Regions from separate parts of the Homo sapiens genome. Here regions 2 and 3 are each linked to region 1. The links are contacts of gene promoters, found by promoter capture Hi-C in human tissues and cell types (Jung and others, 2019). All regions are on one chromosome and are shown on one strand. The core of a region is centred on a gene start or on the middle of the fragment in contact, and the rest is flanking DNA. Distances in the headings are between cores, read along the strand shown. Region 1 holds the start of ERMN (ermin). Region 2 has its middle 72 kb from the start of ACVR1. Region 3 has its middle 110 kb from the start of UPP2.

Evidence for each region. Contacts are between HindIII fragments. The study calls those that stand out against the background at their distance.
Region 2: a fragment that was not itself captured here is called in contact with the fragment with the promoter of ERMN in region 1 in 2 of the 25 tissues and cell types used here (mesenchymal stem cells and spleen).
Region 3: a fragment that was not itself captured here is called in contact with the fragment with the promoter of ERMN in region 1 in 1 of the 25 tissues and cell types used here (thymus).

What each region holds. Positions count from the first base shown.
Region 1 is chr2:157,322,963-157,327,195 of GRCh38, reverse strand. It overlaps ERMN (ermin), which reads left to right and starts at 1,372. Exons shown (of 3, transcript NM_020711.3): 1 at 1,372-1,794; 2 at 2,434-2,526. The coding sequence starts at 1,554. RefSeq lists an enhancer at 939-1,488. The HindIII fragment of the contact is 5,881 bases long and covers 1-3,263 here.
Region 2 is chr2:157,946,836-157,950,754 of GRCh38, reverse strand. No RefSeq gene overlaps it. Among named protein-coding and RNA genes, the nearest start is that of ACVR1, 72 kb to the right of the region's middle. The HindIII fragment of the contact is 4,456 bases long and covers 1-3,919 here.
Region 3 is chr2:157,990,993-157,995,237 of GRCh38, reverse strand. It overlaps a transcript of UPP2 not described here. Among named protein-coding and RNA genes, the nearest start is that of UPP2, 110 kb to the left of the region's middle. The HindIII fragment of the contact is 8,976 bases long and covers 1-4,245 here.

The DNA.
Region 1 (4,233 bases), core at 123-2,622:
TACAACTCTTCAACACCTATTCTTCTTCTCTTTAAAAATGATCTGAAATTTATTCTCTTGGGGATAAAATTTATTGTATATATTATATATATAATATAATTCTTGTTATGTATGTGTATATATATAATTATTTGTGTATATATGTGTATATATATAATTATTTTTATTGCGTGCTACTATTCCAAGCCAGATGCTAAGTGCTGGGGACACATGTAAGCAAGTTAAACTGGCCCCTCGCCAGATGAAACTTAGTTTGCAGTTGGTGAAACAGACATTACAGAGATAATTGTGCAGTTGCTTATTTAGTTACAACCATGAAGAATACTCTGAAGGGCAAAGACAATGTGTAACAGAGTCCTGTCCTAATCCTGGCGGTTAGAGATAGTGTAGTTAAGGAGATGATATTTAAGCTTAAAAACAGAACTTAGGGAAGCTGGTCAGCCCAGGGCTTGGGCTTGAGGAAGAGAAGGGCATTTCACATAGAAGGAGCTGTGTGGGCAAAGGCTCTGGAACCATTTTGTACTATGAGAAATCCAAAAAAGAAAAAGATTTAAAAAGGAAGGGGTGGTCAGTAGCAGTCATTTAACATAATCACCTGTTTCTCCCAAGGGCAGATTGCATTGGTCCTCTACATTTTACCAGCATTGTGTAATATCAGTATGGAATAGAAAGGATTGTAATTCTGATTGGGGGAGGAGAAACCTTCATGGCGATAATTTTATTAGGGTTTTAAAGGATCGGCTGGGCTTCAGCAGACATAAACTAGAGGATAAGAAGCTATAGACTAAGTAAATTACTCTGAAATTATAAAACTTTTGGTATTAGCAAGTTGGTAGAATTTGTTTATTTCATAGGTCCCTTCTCCAGCCTGCTGGAAGCACACCATCAAATCTGCAGCCAGAACCATTTACAGTAAAGTTGTCCTGTTTATAGGTTTTTTCCATAAGCTGTTTTATTTTTTAATAAATAAGAAACAATGCCATTGTCCTTTACAAAATAGCTGAGGTTTTACTTGAACAAAATCTGTTTGGAAATGTTAAGCTGGTTACACAGAACTAATATGCCTCAAGGTGGTCATTCTCTCTGGATTAAAGCTGTGGGACAATTGTGGCTCCTGTTACAGGGAAAATTACAATGGGCCATTATGAAAAGGGACAAAAATCTCTGTTCCCAGAGGGGGACTGACAAGCTGAAAGTCCCTCTCTACATGCCAACACAAAAGCCTGATTGCTTCAGATTGTTTGTTTATGTAAATCAAAAGGATGCCTTTAACTCTGCCAGGGAACTGGCAAGCAACAAAGAAGGTGGTGATTGGCTGGATTCTTGCTCATGGCTCCTGGCAGATCTGACAAATCCTCTTGCTTTTGCTCTAATCTCTGTCTGGATACTTTTAGGAAAAGAACCTTGTTATTATGTACTAAAGTGAATAATTTGTGCTCTTAGAGTAGGAGTTGGAACTATAGGACTTGAAGGCAAGAGCAGGTATCTTATCAAGGATCTACTCACTCAGTTTCCCTAAAGCTCTCTCTCCAGATCGGATTCAACCGCACATCATGACAGATGTTCCGGCTACATTTACCCAGGCTGAGTGTAATGGGGATAAACCACCTGAAAACGGTCAACAAACAATCACTAAAATCAGTGAGGAATTGACTGATGTGGACAGCCCCCTGCCACACTACAGGGTAGAACCCAGTCTGGAAGGTGCACTCACCAAAGGAAGTCAGGAGGAAAGAAGAAAATTACAAGGGAACATGCTGCTCAACTCATCCATGGAGGACAAAATGCTAAAAGGTAAAGTGTTTCCCTTCTCCTTAATTTTCTTGTTTTGACTTATAAATTTACCCTGGATTTTTTTGATAAACTATTATCGAAATGAGCTGGACACCCCAAAAATGTAGCCCTTTATTCTACTACGCATAGTATAAGGACTAAACCTCTGCCTCTGGTGAAATCCAGGCTGGTCTATTTGACAGCTGTGACCCCAGACAACTTTCTGTCTCCCGAAGCCTGAGTTTTTTTCACTAGAAGAAGGCGGAATAATAATAATAACTACAAGTCTAGGGTAAGTATTGGCTAAATGTTAACTACTGTATTTATTATGATTATGGACAGCCCCATATTATTTGAACAAAGAGAATTCAAAATGTTAAAATTTCCTTCTAAATATAACTGAAGTTCTCTGAATTTATGGTTCTATATCTTATATATATATCTTATATAAATATTAAAGGAGAGATTACAATCAATAAAGTGATCATTAAGTAAATAAATTGAATTGATAAAGAATGAATCCAAAGAGTGAAATAGTAAATTTTAATGATCAGATTTAAAATTAAAGACTTCTACCTAGAGTTTAAATTGATAACTTATTAACTGTTGAACAATAAATATTTTAAATGTTAAAATACTGATTTTATATTTTTTTCCTAGAAAACCCAGAAGAGAAACTCTTTATTGTTCATAAGGCTATCACAGATCTTTCTCTCCAAGAAACTAGTGCTGATGAAATGACATTCAGAGAAGGTAACAAGAACTACAGTTTTGTACACAGAAATTGTTTGACTGAGTATGGATGACAGTCTTTCCATGAAATGTTGCATGAGCGTGGGGTTGACAAAGCAATCCAGGCAATGACTTCAAATTTTCAAAGCTGCTGTAGGCAGATAAGAGAGTCTTAACTTATCTGTGGGTTCCACCTTATAAAGCATTCCAGACTGTTCAAGGCTGAGGCTGCATGGAATGGCATAGCTGATTGGCATACCAACGTGATGTCTATCTCTTAAGTTAGTCCACTGAGTCAACCCTACTTTTTGATTTGGTGTGTCCAAATCTGTGTGTGCACCTTGTGAAAGGTAAATGTTTCAAAAACGGGTCTTTCCTAAAAGTCTACAATTAACATACAGCTTTTTTTTTTTTTTTTGAGACGGAGTGTCACTCTTGTTGCCCAGGCTGGAGTGCAATGGTGCAATCTCGGCAGACTGCAACCTCTGTCTCCAGGGTTCAAGCGATTCTCCTGCCTCAGCTTCCTGAGTAACTGGGATTACAGGCACCTGACACCACGCCCAGCTATTTTGTGTGTGTGTGTGTGTGTGTGTGTGTATTTTTAGTAGAGACGGAGTTTCACCATGTTGGCCAGGCTGGTCTTGAACTCCTGACCTCAGTTGATCCACCTGCCTTGGCCTCCCAAAGTGCTGGGGTTACAGGCGTGAGCCACTGTGCCCGGCCAACATACAGTTTAAAGTAATCTCACGAAATGATTTACTTTATAGGCCTCTAATGTAAATACAAAATTGTTAACTATTTCATGTCAAAGAAAGACAGGGTGATAAAGTTAATTTTAATTGTGTTCTTTAAGAAAATGGAAGAATAAAAAGAACATTGAAGTGATTATGTTAAATTTTAAATAAACTTAATAGACTAAGAGACACAAAATCCTTTAGATTTTTCTAAGACACCTACATTTAAACAGTTCCCAAATAAAGTGTAGGATAAAATCTATTAATTAATCATTTCTTTCCTCTCTTGCAGCCATACACATCTTATGTCAAATTGAAGTCAGCTTGCTAAACCTAACCAATTTAGCTTTGTTAGGACTTTAACAGGCAAAATATTGAAGAGACTATTGGTTGAAATATTAGAACATCACATAAAATAGTAGATGTCAAGGAGGACAGGAATGTGATTGGCTATTTCCTACATCTGCTCCCTTTGCCTGAACACCTCTCATACTATGTCTGCTTAGCAGTGTAGCAACACTTAAGGAAATATGTAGCAAGCAATAGACAGTGTCAAGCTGTCACATTACCAGAGATAATTTTTAAGACTTAAGACTTCACAATATGAACTTAATAACCTCTTTGCCCTAATTATTCTGCTTCCAATGTAACAAGTTCTCAGAGGCAGAATCTCAACCTCCTATCATCTAGAGCCCCTTTCAAATGTTTGATCAGGAGTCCATTGCAGGTAACAGTTGTCTAGATCTTTCATTTTCATCAAATGGAGAATGAAAGCAGGCTGTAGTTTTCAGCTAGATGGTCTCGCTGGTTAAGTTTTCCCTCAATGAATCCTTTCCTGTTTGATGGAGTATGTTTTTCCTCCATAATAGAGGCACAGATTTTGGTGTGTTTTATCTTCACAGTGGCAAACAGCTATAAAATCTTCAAAAAGAATGTTACTGGATTAAAACATATAAAGATGCTAAAAATATTGAGGAAAAACTATAATTTAAAT
Region 2 (3,919 bases), core at 938-3,437, 620 kb before region 1:
ACATAAAATAGCAGGATTGGAGATATAGATGCTAGTCAAGAAAAGTCAAGAAATATAAATTTTGAGTTAACTATCAGAAATACCTTCAGGAGATGTATGTTGCGGTGACTATTGTTAATAACATATTGAATATTTGAAAGTAGCTAAGAGAGTTGGTTTTAAGTGTTCTCAGCACAAAAAAATAAGTGAAGTAATGCATATGCTAATTAGCTTGATTTAGCCATTCCACAATGTATGCATATATCAAAACATCATGTTGTACACCATACATATATACAATTTTTAGTCATCAGTTAAAAAAGGGAAAGAAAAGGTGGCTCACATTTCTCCCATTGAATCTTCTTTTTTTCTAAGTGCAGTCATCCCTTCGTATCCTCAGGGGATTTGTTCCAGGACCCCCGAGGATACCAAAATCCATGGAAGCTCAAGTCCCTGATATAAAGTGGTGTAGTATTTGCTTATTATCTGAGCACATCCTCCTATACACTTTAAATCATCTCTAGATTACTTATAATGCCAACACAATGTGAATGCTATGTGAAGCATTGTTGTATTGCATTCTTTTGAATTGGCATTCTTTTTTATCATTGTCTTGTTATGTTTAATTATTTTTTTCCAAATATTTTCTAACTGAGACTGGTTAAATCCATGGATGGGGAACCACAGACACAACAAAGGACCAACTATAATTTCACTTGTATAAGTTCCTTATATGTGAGGAGAGTAAAGGAAAGAAAATTTCAAAGGTCACAGAATTATTAATTGACAAGGTAGAAGCTCAGCTTCCTTAAGTTCTAGCCAAGCTTCTTTGATATAGTAAAGTATTTACAAAGGAGTCAATGTTCAACTCTTATTAATATTATGGGTTTAAAATGTTTTCATTATCTAATTATACTTGGTCTCCTCTGATTTTGTTACCACTCCCCACTCATGCAACGTCATGCTCTCTTACTGGATACCTGATGGTTTCTTCCCTTTTATACTGGGATCTTTCCATTTGGCTCTACCAGACAAATTTCATTTAAGCAAATTATTAGAATCAGACGAGAAATTTTAAAGGCAATGTGACACGTTTTGCCTAAGACTTGGGCAAATGTCTGAAACTCTCTATACTCCAGTTCATTTTAGCTTCATATCTGTGATTGTTTGCTCTTTATAAATACTCACAACAGGGTTATAATATCCCAGGTATTAACTGAGCCTGTAAAACTGCCTGTGATTTTAGGTGGAGGATAAAGGGAAAGAGACAGAGCTGATTCTACCGGGGATCCAACAGAGCTTTGATGATATGGACTGTTTCCTGTTTTGCCTGTGAAGATTGTCCAGAGCTAAAGTAAGAAAACATGTGGAGAATATGGAGATAAAATATGAGACAAAAGGTAGAAAATGGACAAAAGGAAAATAATATATGTATTATACATTTTATAATTAAGAGTGTAAAGGATTAGCTGGAGGTAGTGGTGTGGGCCGGTAGCCTCAGCTACTTGGCAGGCTGAGGTGGGAGAATGATTTATAAGCCCAAGAGATGGAGACTGCAGTGAGCTGTGATTATGCCACTGCACTTTAGCCTGGGCAGCAGAGTAGGACCTTGTCTCTAAATTAAATTAAAGAATGTAAAGGGGAGCCAGGCACAGTAACACACATCTGTAATCTCAACTACTTGGGAGGCTGAGGTGGGAGGATTACTTGAGACCAGCAGTTTGAGGTCAGCCTGGACAACATAGTGAGACCCCATCTCTACATAAAAGAAAAAGAAAGAATGTGAAGGGGAATGCTCAGGTGGTATTGCTATGAACTACACTGTCACTATATCAAACAGATCAATTTTAGCTGTAAATGACAGAGACCTTAAAAAATGGTGACTTAACCATTAGGAAAGTTCTTCCTCAACAGACAGCAATCTGGAGGTAGGTGATCCCCAGTTGGGTGGGGAGCTCATGACATAGCAAGGGCCCACACTTTTCCCACCTGCTTAGAGGACCATCCTCTGCATGTCGACCAAGTTTCCCATTTTGATCATAAGGTGGCTGCTGGAGCTCCCAGCACAAAATTCTCACACATCAGCTCCTATCAATACCTAAGCAGGAAGGAAGTGGATATGGGTAAAGAGAGACTTTTCTTTTTCTATGCCTTTCTCTTAACTGAGAGGACAGTCTTTTTCTAAACTACTCAACAGAACTTAGTAGCATGCCCCTAGACCAACACAAAGAGAAATGGGATGGCAGTGTTGTAAACCAATCCTAATTCATGTCTTAGGATTAGACATACTACTATAAGAGAGAAGGTAGACTGGCCAATGGGTAGGCAAGCATCAGAATCAGTCACACAAATACACACACACACACAAACACAGAATCAATCAACTATCAGAATTAATAAGGGATTTGGGCGAGGTTGACAGACGCAAGACTATACTAAAAAACGGATTGCCTTTAGCCTCAATAACAAAATAAGAGTATTTTGTAAATTATGCCATTCATTTTTGCAACAAAAATAAAGTATCTTAAATTAACCCAGATATTTTGTTAACATTAGCCAATTGACCAAGAATACACAAGACATCTATGGAGGAAATTTTAAGACTTTTATAAAGGGCACAGATATGAATTTAGTACATGAAAAGACTTTATAGTCTCAAACATAATATTTTAAATATCTAATTACACTAACGTAAAAATCAATTAATATATGTAAAGCAGTTGATTAAAATTCCAGTTAGATTTCGTGAGGAAATTTATACTCTAGAATTTATATGCCAACTAATTTCCTAGACTAAGTTGCCATTTTAAATGTAGACTCCTACTTTGTAATATTAAAACATAAACAGTAGTAATAAGGAGCAGGATGGTGTTTATTTGAATAAGGAATTGAAAAGGGAAGCAGAATTTCTATTCATAGAATAATGGATTTACTATAGTGTTAAGCTTTAGGCAATTATGGGAGCTGGCAGAAGAGTCTATATAAGCTTTTGCATCTGCATCTAGTGTTGACCTCAAGCGTTTATAGGTCAGACAGACTAGCAGATGGAAAGGAAAGCTAGCTGTGGCTGAGAAGATGGGCAAACTGGAACCAGTGAAGACAAACTGGAGCTGGAACTGGAACCCACAAGACAGAGCAGAACCAGTGTGTGTCTCTTGCCATTTCCAACATCAGTGCTATGAGTGATCAGTAGAAGGTGGGACCTTTCACCATGGAACTGTCCACATACTTGGGGCAGAAATTGGAGAATCTGGTGGAGATTTGACAGGAGCTGGAGGAGCTGGATGTCTCAGTTGATTCAATAAGATAAGCCAGCAGATCAGTAACAATGCATGCAAGATGTTGCTATACATGGCACTTTCTGAGGACCTTCAGAGCAGATAGATGATAGATAGATAGATAGATAGATAGATAGATAGATAGATAGATAGATAGATAGACAGATAGACAGATAGATAGACAGATAGCTGCCCCTTCACTTACCACTTTTCAAGTATCACACAAAATGCCTCCTGTGGCCAAAACAAACTGAGGACCATAAGGAAAAAATAATTACAGGAAATGTAATTCCAGTAAAACTAATCTGACACAGTTCAAAGCTATCACAATATTGTATTGTTGGTTTGGTTCAAGAACAAACAGACAAAAAACAGAAGTGAGTGCCAGGGACATGTTTATACAGAAACTTAATAGACACTAAAGGAAAACTAGCTATATGCACACAAAGACTGGATCTTTATACAACATAATAAAAAATGGACTCCAGATAGATTTAAGAATAAATATGCTGTAATCCCAGCACTTTGGGAGGCCGAGGTGGGTAGATCACAAGGTCAGGAGTTCAAGATCAGCCTGGCCAAGATGGTGAGACCCCATCTCTACTAAAAATACAAAAAATTAGCTGGGCATGGTGGCGGGCGCCTGTAGTCCCAGCTACTCG
Region 3 (4,245 bases), core at 741-3,240, 670 kb before region 1:
TTCTTGGTCTGGGTCCAACTCACAGCCTGGGGCCAGCATGGCAGCACTGGTGAAGTCCCTAGGAATAAAAAAAATGTTTGAGAAAAGAGTGGTGACAATGACTGGGCTCTGAATTGTGAACATTTACACGTGTAAATGCAGAAACACCCATATACGATCATCCACATATTAATTTTCCACCTAGACTCATTACTTTTCCATAACTCTGATGAAAAGGGGAGTTTTATTTGTGTAGAATCTTTCCGATTTGGTGATAGTGGTGACTGGAATAATAGTAAGAAAAGATATCTTGGCAGGACTGGCTACATCATTTAAGGGACCCAATGCAAAATGAAAATGCAGGCTCCTTGTTCTAAAATGATTAAGAATTTTAATACTGAGACAGCAGAGCATGAAACCAAGCTCAGAGCCCTTCTAAATTCAGGTCTCTGTGTGACTGTACTGGTCACGGGCCCATGAAGCCAGTCCTGAGTTTTAGAGTCAGGTAGATATGGGATCAAATTCTCGATTTTTTCATTTATAAGCTGAGTATCTTGGCTAAATTATTTAAACTTTCAAAGTTTCAGTTATGCAATCTTAAAATGGGAGTGATGTGAGTGTGGCATTATTCTCAAGATTGCTGTGAGGATTAAAAGAGAGAGCATTCTATTAGGTGCATACCATAGTGCCTGGCTCAGGGAGACTGTTCATCTTCTCTATGTTGTATACTGCAGTTAGAGTTTGATATAGTTTGAATATTTGTCCCCTCCAAATCTCATACTGAAATTTGATCCCCAATGTTGGAGGTGGGGCCTAGAGAGAGGTGTTGGGGTCATGAGGATGAATCCCTCACAAATGGCTTGGTGCCATTCTTGCGGGATTGAGTGAGTTCTCACTCTTAGTTCCTGTTAGATCTGTTAAAGAGTCTGACACCTCCCTCCCCACCCCTCTTCCTCTCTCTCTCATTCTCTCTCTCTGTTCTTTCCCTTTACCATGTGATGCCTGCTCTCCTCTGCCTTCCACCATGAGTGGAAGCTCCATGAAGCCCTCACCAGAAGCAGACGCTGGTGTCATGGTCATACAGCCTGCAGAGCCATGAGCCAGATAAACCTCTTACTTTTACAAATTACCCAGACTCAGGTATTCTTTTATAGCAACATGAAACAGTCTAAGAAAGAGTTCATATTCTAAAGTGCAAACTTGAAAGTTTGATATGGTTTGGCTCTGTGTCCCCATCCAAATCTCATGTTGAATTGTGACCCTATGTGTTGGAGGTAGGGCCTGGTGGGAGGTGATTGGATCATAGGGGTGGTTTCTGATGGTTTGGCACCATCCCCCTAGTACTGTCTCATGATAGAGTTCTCAAAAGATCTGGTTGTTTGAAAGTGTGTAGCACTTCCCCCTTTGCTCTCTCTCCATCTCCTGCTCCGCCATGATGAATATATGCTTGGTTCTGCTTCATCTTCCGCCATAATTTTAAGTTTCCTGAGGCCCCGCAGCCATGCTGCCTATACAGCCTGCAGAACTATGAGTATATTAAATCTCTTTTCTTCATAAATTAGCCAGTCTCAGGTAGTTCTTTATAACAGTGTAAGAACAGACTTAATAGAGGGTTTCTCCCTGATTTAAGATTATTTTTGGTTATCCATTATCTACGAAACAAAATGAAAATGCACATTATGACATATAAGGACCTTAACTATTCAGGTTTTATCAATCTCTCTAAAACTTGCCACCTACCACTCTCACATATGTTCAAAGTATAATTTGTATTTATTTTCACTTTTCCTTAAGAACCAGTAAATATAATAGGCATAGATGACAAATAATAAATTAGCATGTGCCAGGCACTGTGCTAATCATTCTGTGGGAGGGAATACTCATTCTCCACTCCTGCTGTTTCCTCCCATGAGAGAGAGCTGCATGAGCTGTAACATTCCTGGATACTTCCACCTCCTCATTTATCCTCCCCTGGCAAGGATAAGTTGAGAGAATCTGGGTATTTGTATTCCAGCCTCTTTCTCTTTTGGTAGCAACTCTCACAGGGAGCATGATTTTAGGCAAGCTGTAAGCATAGTGGCAAAGACCTTTTCCCGGTGGAACGACCCATTGTCCAGGACTACCTGATACCAGTTGGTGAGCCTGTCTATTTCTGGTATTCAGCGTCAGGAAGCCTAAGTTCTCCAGTGTCAGCTTTATCAATGATAATGGTCTCCTGCCTGCGTTACTCTTGTCTGTTTCTAAATTGGTTCAGAACTTGGGTGGGGAAAATGGGTATTATTTACTGAGGATACGTAAGTATCCCAACAAAGTCTACATTCATTGTCTCCTTTATACCTCAGAGCTACCATATGAGGTAAGCATATCTATCATCCAATTTTTATAGATAAGGAAAGTAAGGATTAGCAATCAAGTAAGTGGCATAATCAAGATCTAAACAGTTCTATCTGATGCCACAGATTATGCCCTTACATTTTCCCATTTTGTTTTTGCATGAAGGTTTAATAATAAACTGATAAGAACATTCAAAATTTGAGTTCATGTTGAAAAAAAAAAAGCTAACACAGTATTATATGCAGTGTACTTATATTCTATCTGGCAGAAAAGTTAGCCAAGCTAAACTTAAATTCAGCACATGCTGAATTTTATTTTAGGGAGAACAAGCTGCAATCATAATAAAGAACTGTATTTACAGCTAACAGCAATACCCACGTTTCTCTATAGGTCTTACACTACAATCTGAAATTGCATTTCATGATTTACAAGGTCTGAGACATAAACAGTAAAAGGTATGTTTCTGGGAATTTTCTCATTAACAGCCACAAAACAAGCAATTTTATGTGGAATTGCTTTGTTCACCTTTTCTGAAATATGTGCAAGATCTCTCTTTGATGTTGAATCCATTCTGATTTGAACATCTCAATATTTTTGATGTTCCATGAACTCCTCCACACCCCACCTATCTCCGGGAAGCTCAGACCTCCCTACCTACTTGGTGAAAAGAAGGAAATTTAGAACATTTGAGCTCGCAGGCTGCCTACTTAAGACTACCCGAAGAATGAGCTCTGCTTACCCCTGTTCCTTCGTAGGTACATGAATGAGTCGTCAAAAATTCACTAATAGTTGATTAATGCAGTTGTGACAGTATGAAAAACAACAAAAGGAGTGCAGTGCTGAAGAAATTCTAGATCTTGCAGATTTAATGCATCCACTTATATCCATAACTCAATCCCTTTTCATATGACACTAGTTATTGTTGTTACTGTCTTCCATAACCATTCCTACCACGACTCCAGTCCAGGCCATACCCCCTTCTTCTTGTCACAAGAACATCAACACTCTGCAGTCTTTTCTTCTTTATCATGTCTTCATCCCTCCATACTTTGCTCACCAAGATGTGTTTTTCCATCTGTCATATTTGTCTAATCCTGTTGATTTAATGCACTATATTTCTACTAAGAAAACAGTACATACAAAATACTCCCAAGCATCTAACTACTTTTAAAAATATAGATCTTTCTAAATTACCCATATGTATTGCCTGACCTGGCATCTCTCTCTATTTTCATACAGTGCTCAGCACTCCTGATTAATTGTCTCTTTAATATTTTATCCAAAATTGCACTGGGAAACCAAGAAAACAGGACAAAGGAATGTCATTTGTACTTTTTGTAATCTTCATTATTTACCAAATGTATTTTTCTTATAACCACCTTTGTAGTACTTCAAGATATGCCTAACAGGCACTGTTAGCTCTTTTACAGGCCTGTGGATAATGGAAAGTATGGAGAATCCTGGCTTGGAAAGGCAATAAATAAGGTTATTTTGACACTACTCTCTATTGGAGGAATTGTGATTGTTTTTGATTTTGTTTCTGTTTTGAGAGAAGAAGCTTGCCTAATGGCAATCCATAAGACATTCTGGAGAACAGTTATAGATTCAAAATGTGAGTTTTAGTCTACTTGAATGTAGCACCTTGTTAACAAAAAGGCTTCACTTTTATTGCCTCACTGATAATTCACATAACCTGCTGACATAGTGCTATGGTCTGAATGTGTGTATACCCCCAAAATTTGTATACTGAAACTTAGTTCTCAAGGTGATGGTGTTAAGAGGTGGGGCCTTTGGGAGGTGATTAAATCATGAGGGCTCTGCCCTCAAGAATGATGTTAGGTACCCTCTTAAAAGGCCTTGAGTAAGTGAAGTTTGGCTCTCTTGTTCTTCCACCTCCCACCCCGTGATATTGCAGATTTCACAACAACAAGG